2 separate regions of the Homo sapiens genome follow, and region 1 is linked to region 2. Evidence: promoter capture Hi-C in 16 types of primary human blood cells and fetal thymus (Javierre and others, 2016). All regions are on one chromosome and are shown on one strand. Each heading gives the region's core, a stretch centred on a gene start or on the middle of the fragment in contact. The rest is flanking DNA. Distances are from core to core; before and after follow the strand shown.

What was found. The method cuts DNA at HindIII sites, captures the fragments that hold promoters and counts their contacts. A CHiCAGO score of 5 or more calls a contact.
Region 1: the fragment with the promoter of CYP11A1 here is called in contact with a fragment that was not itself captured in region 2 in 6 of 17 cell types (endothelial precursors, M1 macrophages, M0 macrophages and 3 more); the score reaches 8.0 in endothelial precursors.

Annotation. Positions count from the first base shown.
Region 1 is chr15:74,365,686-74,369,222 of GRCh38, forward strand. It overlaps CYP11A1 (cytochrome P450 family 11 subfamily A member 1), which reads right to left and starts at 1,961. Exons shown (of 9, transcript NM_000781.3): 1 at 1,632-1,961. The coding sequence starts at 1,900. LOC124903524 (a long non-coding RNA gene) reads left to right here. Exons shown (of 2, transcript XR_007064709.1): 2 at 1-3,537. RefSeq lists a silencer at 344-503, a promoter at 1,911-3,537 and an enhancer at 2,093-2,117. The HindIII fragment of the contact is 5,873 bases long and covers 1-3,537 here.
Region 2 is chr15:74,614,442-74,618,368 of GRCh38, forward strand. CLK3-AS1 (CLK3 antisense RNA 1) reads right to left here and starts at 1,351. Exons shown (of 9, transcript XR_007064715.1): 1 at 1-1,351. It overlaps CLK3 (CDC like kinase 3), which reads left to right and starts at 1,395. Exons shown (of 13, transcript NM_001130028.2): 1 at 1,395-1,457. RefSeq lists silencers at 170-489, 910-1,449 and enhancers at 1,538-2,149, 2,150-2,760. The HindIII fragment of the contact is 4,168 bases long and covers 1-3,449 here.

The DNA.
Region 1 (3,537 bases), core at 711-3,210, 250 kb before region 2:
ACAGGAGAGGTCCGGCCGCGCGGACGTCACCTTAGCGCGCCACTGTCGGCTCCGGTGGGCTCGGGTGAGCTCGGGTGAACGCAGCGAGCGAGGGCAGAGGCCAGCAGAGGCGAGGAGTGGATGCTGCAGGGCCGCAGGCCGGGCAGAGAAACGCATACCGGGTCGCTCCCTGCTTCGCCGCCGCCTCCTGGCAGGGCCAGCGAAGCCAGTGCTCCAGCGCCCCCGTAACACCTCAAAGCGCACGGAGTCCGTGTTGGGGAACTTGGCGGCAGAGTGACTGGGACCTAGGACCTGCGGTGGGGCCGCCGCCGCCTCCGCGGGGCCGAGCGCCTGGACCTCGCCCTGAGGTAAACGCGGGTCGACCCGGGGGGCGGATGGGCTCGGGCTGTGTCGAGGGGAGGCGGAGGTGAGCGACCCGCGAAGAGCGCAGGAGCAGGCCGGGGGCCACGCTAGGGCGGACCCAATTTCGGAATAGCGCGGCCCGGGCGGCGGCGTGCGCTGGGAGGAATGCTGGGTCTGTCGCTAGCGCCAAACTTGACCACGCTGCGACCTTTTCACTCTGTGCTCTGACCTTCAAATCTCCCTCCCCCGATTTTTTTTTTTTTTTTTTTTTTGAGACAGAGTTTCGCTTTTGTTGCCCAGGGCGGGAGTGCAGTGACATGATCTCGGCTCACTGCAACCTCCACCTCCTGGGTTCGGGCGAGTGTCCTGCCTCAGCCTCCCGAGTAGCTGGGATTATAGACCCCCGCCACCATGCCCGGCTAATTTTTTTTATTTTATTTATTTATTTATTTATTTATTTATTTATTTTTGTAGTAGAGACAGGGTTTCACCATGTTGGCCGGGTTGATCTCGAACTCCTGTCCTCAAGTGATCCGCCTGCCTCAGCCTCCCAAAGTGCTGGGATTACAAGCGTGAGCCACCGCACCCGGCCTTCTCCCAATTTTTAAAACTCGCTGGCTGGGCTGACAGCTACAGGGCCAGGAATTCAAAACTTAGCCTCACCAGTCTCCCCTCCTCAGACCGAGGAGGTTGTTTTGTTTTGTTTGAGACAGAATCTCACTCTGTCGCCCAGGCTGGATTGCAATGGTGCGATCTCGGCTCACTGCAACCTCTGCCTCTCCGGTTCAAGCCATTCTCCTGCTTCAGCCTCCCGAGTAGCTGGGATTACAGGCGCCTGCCACCACACCCAGCTAATTTTTGTATTTTTAGTAGAGACGGGGTTTCATCATGTTGGCCAGGATGGTCTCGAACTCTTGATCTCAAGTGATCCGCCCACCTCGGCCTCCCAAAGTGCTGGGATTATGGGTGTGAGCCACCATGCCTGGCCAGACCTGGGGTTTGGACCCATTAAAGAGCTTCCTTACAGATGGCTGGCGGTCTTGCCACCAATTGTTTCAAAAGTAGATGTCTGGTTTAGAGTACTTAAGACATTCACAGATTCAAATGTTGAATTTTGAAATATCCCTGATATATTTCTGTATTGTATTACCAAAAAAAAAAAAAAAAAAGAAGTTAGACAGGAGTTTGGAACCAGAGAACAGCCTGTTGGGGGAGTGGGGACTACAGCAGGGCTACCCAGGCCCCTCCTCCTCCCTGTCCCTTCGGCTCCCACCCTCTGCCAGGCTTACCTGTAAATCGGGCCATACTTCTGGAAATTCTGGACATGGTGAAGGTGGACTTTGTGTGTGCCCGTCTCCCTCCAGAAATGGTACAGGTTTAGCCAGCCATTGTCACCAGGAGAGGGGATCTCATTGAAGGGGCGAGGACTGCGGGTGGAGATGCCAGCTCCCTCGCCAGTGGGCACCCTGAGACGCCCCAGCCCCTCCCTGGGGGCACTCAGAAAGGTCTGGCAGCCTTTGACCAGGACTGAGCGTGGGGGAAGACCCTTGGCCAGCATGCTGTCCCCACAGCTGTGACTGTACCTGCTCCACTTCAGCGGGGACTGCTAGGATGACTGTAGCCCTGGGCCACCAGGGCCAAGATTATAACTACCAGCTCAAGGCCATACCAGAAGCTGATAAAATGTTCACGTCCTTCCTCCTGCTGCAGGCTCAAACCCGCAGACAGCTCCTCCCCTACTCGGTATGAAGGTTCAGTCTGGAATTTCTGCAGCGTGAGGTTCTCCAAAGGACAGGGAGACCCCTCTGTCTCTGCCCTCAGTGCCAGCCCTAGCAGACTCCTGAAATATCTGCCTGTGCTTTTGCCTGAGCTGGGGCCTCCCACTGGCCCCTGCAGCGGAGTCCATGCCCTGGCAGCCATTGGTCAAGACTGCAGACAACCTGTGTTTGGGGGAAATGAGGGGCCCAAGAGAAGGTCAGAGCTATCTTGCCAGCTTGGGCAACATACGTCTTAGTTATGGCCCCACTGTATAGACACACATCATTGAACAACAGGGATAAGTTCTGAGAAATGCATCCTTAGGCTATTTTATTTTATTTTATTTTATTTTATTTTATTTTATTTTAAGAGAGTTTCATTCTTGTTGCCCAGGCTGGAGCGCAATGGCACAGTTTCACCTTGGAACCCTAATCCTCGTCGTCTCTCCCCAGTTGACCCAGATTTGGGGCTGTAATTCAGTACAGCTGACTCAGAGGGGCTCTGGGTCCCTTGAGCTGAGGTCTGTGGTCAGGCTCCACTCTGGACACACTCTAAGACCTTGGCAAATCTGGTTGCCATGGAACTCAGGATGTCAGCTCTTCCCTGTCCACACACTTGATCTGTGCTGCTTTCCCCTCAGAGCTGCTTCCATACCCCCTCCCATCATATCATATCCCCAGACCCATCCTTCCAGCCCAGGTCAGCCCCCACACCCACCCCCCATCACCCTGCACCTACCACTTTCCCAAACAACAAGGGTCAGTCACCTGTAGAGTTTTCAAGTCATTTCAACAAAATTACAGCCCACTTGGTAAAAATGTGTAGGTCAGAAAACATACATGTGCCATGTAGAGCATTTCATGACAGCAATCTACACTATACCTTATACTTATCATTGGAAGGTACAACTTCTTGCTTTTTTTCCCCAAAATCTTATTTTCTGGCAAATAAGGCATTTAAAACACACATCTAAGAGACAGAAAATAGACTGGTGGTTGCTTAGAGCTAGGGGGATAGAGGAATTAGAGGATGGGACATAAAGTGTGTAGGGATTCTTAGGATGATGAAAATGAAAATATTCTAAAGTATATTGTGGTAATTATTGAACAACTCTCTGATACACTAAAAGCCATTGAATTGCATACTTTAAATGGGTGAATTGTATGGTGTGTGAATTATATCTCAATAGAGCTGTTACCAAACACACACACACACACACACACACGAGTGACATCCTCCTGGCCTCTTCTGTTGTATGTGTCAGCCCATAGATCACCCACAATGGCAAAAGTTGTCCTTACACAGCCACTTGACCCCAGACTCCAATACTGTTGAACCACTTTCAACAAATTTAGAGCAACAGTTTTTAGAAGAAAAAAAAAAAGTACTTATCAAGAGTGGTTGTTGCTCTTCCCGCTGGAGTGACCACTACCTCAT
Region 2 (3,927 bases), core at 116-2,615:
AGGAGCTGGAACTACAGGCATGCGCCACCCAGTCCGGCTAATTTTTGTAATTTTTTGGAAGGGGACCCAGTTTTGAATTAGCTTCTGTTGTTTACTTCGGATAGCCATGGTGGAGCTGGCAGAGATTTAGGGGATACTAAACACCCCTACAAATCACGCCTTGAAACCCCCCGTTTCAGGGAGAGCCGCTGGCGAAGGACTTGATGCGCAGCCGCAGCTCGGAAGCGGGGGGCTCCCCTGCGACACCTCCCCGCTTCAGGGGCGGGCCCAGACCCGCGGGGAGGGGCATGGGCGGGGCCGCGGCTGGCTGGCGGCCGCCGGGGCGGTGCTGGGGAAACCCTTGGCGCCCCCGCGGAGCGGTCCCAAGGAGGGGGCGGTGCCTGGAGGGATGGTCCGCCCCGACTGCGGGTTTCTAGCCCTCGCGTGGCGTGGGGACAATTAGGCGCCACGCCCTGTCGCTTCACTGCGCGACGCTCGCGAGGCCGGGGACGCCACTCCCAGACCGGGCGGGACGCGCACGCTCACAGTGAGGTCTCAAAAGATCCCCACCTCAGTTTTCTCATCTGGAAAGTGGGGCCTCGTAATCCTGTCCGACCCGGCGCGGGACAGTAGGTGTCAGGGATTTTGGTGACCCCACGCTCGAGGCCTCTGCAAAAGGGGGCTGTCCAGTGGCCCAGAGACGCAGCCGGCGGGGCTTTTGTCTAGCGGGGGAGTCTTAACTGAGAGGCCACGCAGGCCGGCAGGAAGCCGCTCCACAGGAGGGGGCTCAAGGAGAGGGGATCTCCTCCCTCCAGACTCCGGCCCCGCCAGAGTAGCTCTAGGGTATCTTCCCAGAAACTGCCCCGCACGCACTGGCGAGCTGGGAGCGCCACCACGGCTTTCAAAAAACCCGCACACACCAAGATAATAATGTGTCGTTCGCTCGTTTCGCGCAAGCGGAGTCGCGTCCGCCTTCCCGAGCTCCGGCACACAGACCTCAGGCCGCTCTCGCGCTCTCCGGGGCCCCGAGAACAATGCCCGTCCTCTCCGCGCGCAGGAGGGAGTTGGCGGACCACGCGGGGTCGGGGCGACGGAGCGGGCCCAGCCCCACGGCCAGGTCGGGGCCCCACCTCTCGGCTCTGAGAGCCCAGCCGGCCCGGGCCGCGCACCTGTCAGGTCGGGGGACCTACGTGCGCCGCGACACGGCGGGAGGCGGGCCGGGCCAGGCTCGTCCCCTCGGCCCTCCCGGAACTAGTCTCCTAGGCCGCGGCGCCCGCCGGAGCGGAGAGGGCTGGTGCCCCGGAGCCTTCGAGTCGGGGGCTAGAGCGGCCAGGCCTCCGAGCCGGGTCGAGCCGAGGCTGGCGACGGCTGCGTCACGCGAGGGGGCGGGGCTGCCACGGGCGGAGGTCGCAGCCGGAAGCGGAAGAGGCGCTCGGAGCGGGGAGTGGGGCCTAGCTGCAGCCGGAGCCTGGGAGACGGTAAGTGTGGGCTGGGGTCCGCGGCGGCGACAGCGGCGGCGGCGGCCGGGGGTGAGTCGGCGGGGCAGGCGCGCTGGTGCCATTCGGTCTCGGCCTACTCCCTTTCTTTCTCCTCTTCGGCCCATATCGGGCCGCGACCTCTCACCCCTGACCCGCTGCTTCTGCCCCGGAGGGCGGTCACTGCAGACCCTGACCTCGACCCCACGGTGTTGAAGGCGGAGCCTGAACGGCCTCTGGGGCCGCTCAAGGGTCCAGTTTGGGCTCTGTGCCTGCCCGCGGAATGGGGTCGGGGTCCGACGTAGAAGAGCCAGAGAAGCCCTTCAGACCCCTCCCCTACCCCTGGCTTCAGGCTTAGTCCGCAGATGACTCCTCCCTTGGCGGCCTGGAGTTTGATTCTGGCCCAGTCCGGCTTTCCCTCTGTCCCCGGGTCTCCCCTCGGCGCCACTGGTGGCGGTTACAGGGGATGGGACTCTGAGACCCCCTGGGACCTGGGGCGGCAGGAAGGGACGCGAACGAGGGCGCAGGCTCCCCTGTGTGTTTTGTTGTGGTGGTAGAGCCACTCCAGCCCGGAGGATGGGCTAGGCCAAGCTGACAGTTCAAATCCCCTGGCTGCTCCTCCGTCCCGCCCGGGAGTCTCTAGCTTTAGTTCCGGGTGTGGGTGCCCTGATGTGGAGCTGGGGTGGAAATTGCCTGAACCAGGCCCCCATCAGAGGCGGAGTTGGCGGCCTTCCAGCTTCCCTTCTTGATGCCCTTGAAAAGGAGGAGCGTTTCACCGTTGGTGGTGGAGGCTTGCGAGGTGGCAGGTTTGAGGTTGCAGTGGTAGGGCAGTCCAGCCAAAAATAACCATGGGTGCTGGGGTGGCTGGAATCCGGGAGGGCAGCCGCTGACCTGGCTGGCTGCACTTCTAGTCAGCCCAGTTCTCTGGCCAGGAACAGCAAATGAGAAGCCGACAAGGCCTGTGCTCAAAGTTGACATCCTTGGCTTGGTTTTCTTCATATCACCTTTTTCCTCATTGTGCAGAGCAGAGCTTCCCAAAGCATAATTGTGGCCTTTAGCTGCTTTTTAAACAAGCTGTTTGCTGAGGTTTTCGAGAATCAGAGATAATTGAGAAATGGGCCCTAGAGCCCTGGCTGGGAGGATGATATCTGCTATTTCCAATATTTTACTTGCCTAGAATGTGTTAAAGGAAGGATACTCTTCTCTGTTATTGCTTTGTGTGTGGTACCTTATAACTCTCATGCTTGTCATCTCTTTTGCCAGGCTGAGAGATGTTATCTCCATTTTCCAGGCATGCTAACCAAGGCCTAGAGTGACTTGTCTAAGGTCATGAGGCTGGTATGTGACAGCACTAGGATTTAGTTTAGTTTTCTGCCAGAGCTCTTGCCTCCCAGTTTCCTTGGAAGGGACTTATAAAATGTCTGTAAGGCATTTAACACAGCCCTGAAGTGTTACCTGGAACTTTCAGATGTTCATGAAAAGCTGCCACTAGTACCTCTGTGGGCACAAAGCTGTGCTAGGCATTTCACTTATAGGAGAGAGATATTTAATCCTCACAGAACCTTGTAAGAGATTACTATTCCCTTGTTGCAAGATGAAGCTGACGGTCAGAGTAGTGTAATAATTTGTTCAAAGGCACACAGCTAGAAGTGGCAAGCCATGATTCAGATTGACATCTATATGACTCTGAAATTTTGTTTTCCATTGATGTGAATATGTATGGACATAAGAATCTTCTAGGTCCCAGGAGGTAGTCTTTGGCGTGGTGTGACTGTGACTGTGTCCTCCAGCTCTGGTGTTTGTCTGCCCAGTGAGGATGGGCAGGACCATACTTGCCTTGTGGCACGACATGTGCCCTGGCCAATAGAGCATCTTCTGGGTCAATTAGTGGGGTGTGAGTTCCTGCTTTCATTCCATAGCTTGGGCACCTGACCCAGAGTAATTGCAGGAAAACAGTGAAATATTAGTCAGCTGATTACCAAAACAACAAATCTAAGCTTTTGGGGAGGTGATTTCACAAAATATTTATCTCCAAAGACTTCCCAGGTACACGGGGGAAGACAAGTTAGTGGGGAGATGGAGGGCTTTCTTAGGGACACGGAGAGGCTCCCAGGGGTTTGGTCACATAGGCCTCACTGTCCTGCTCAAGCATGGGGAGCTGTTCTATGCTGCTTTTCTCCTGACAGACCCTGCTGGTGAGATGGGGCAGCCTCAGTGGGTTTGTACAAAATGTGCTTGGCCAGGCAAGCTCAGGACTGACCATGACTGGAGGTTGGCTGTGGCCAAGTGTGAGTGTTGGGAAGAAGGCTGGCTCCATGGAGGCAGTCAGGGATTGACGTATGGGTGGAGCAGGTTGCTGGCCTCACATGGCCAGCTTTCTCCGCTGGTGGCAGATCCAGCCTGGCAATTTCATTTGGTGGATATAAGTCCTCACTGAACAGGGATAGTGAGGTGGGGCTCTTTTACCTGCCAG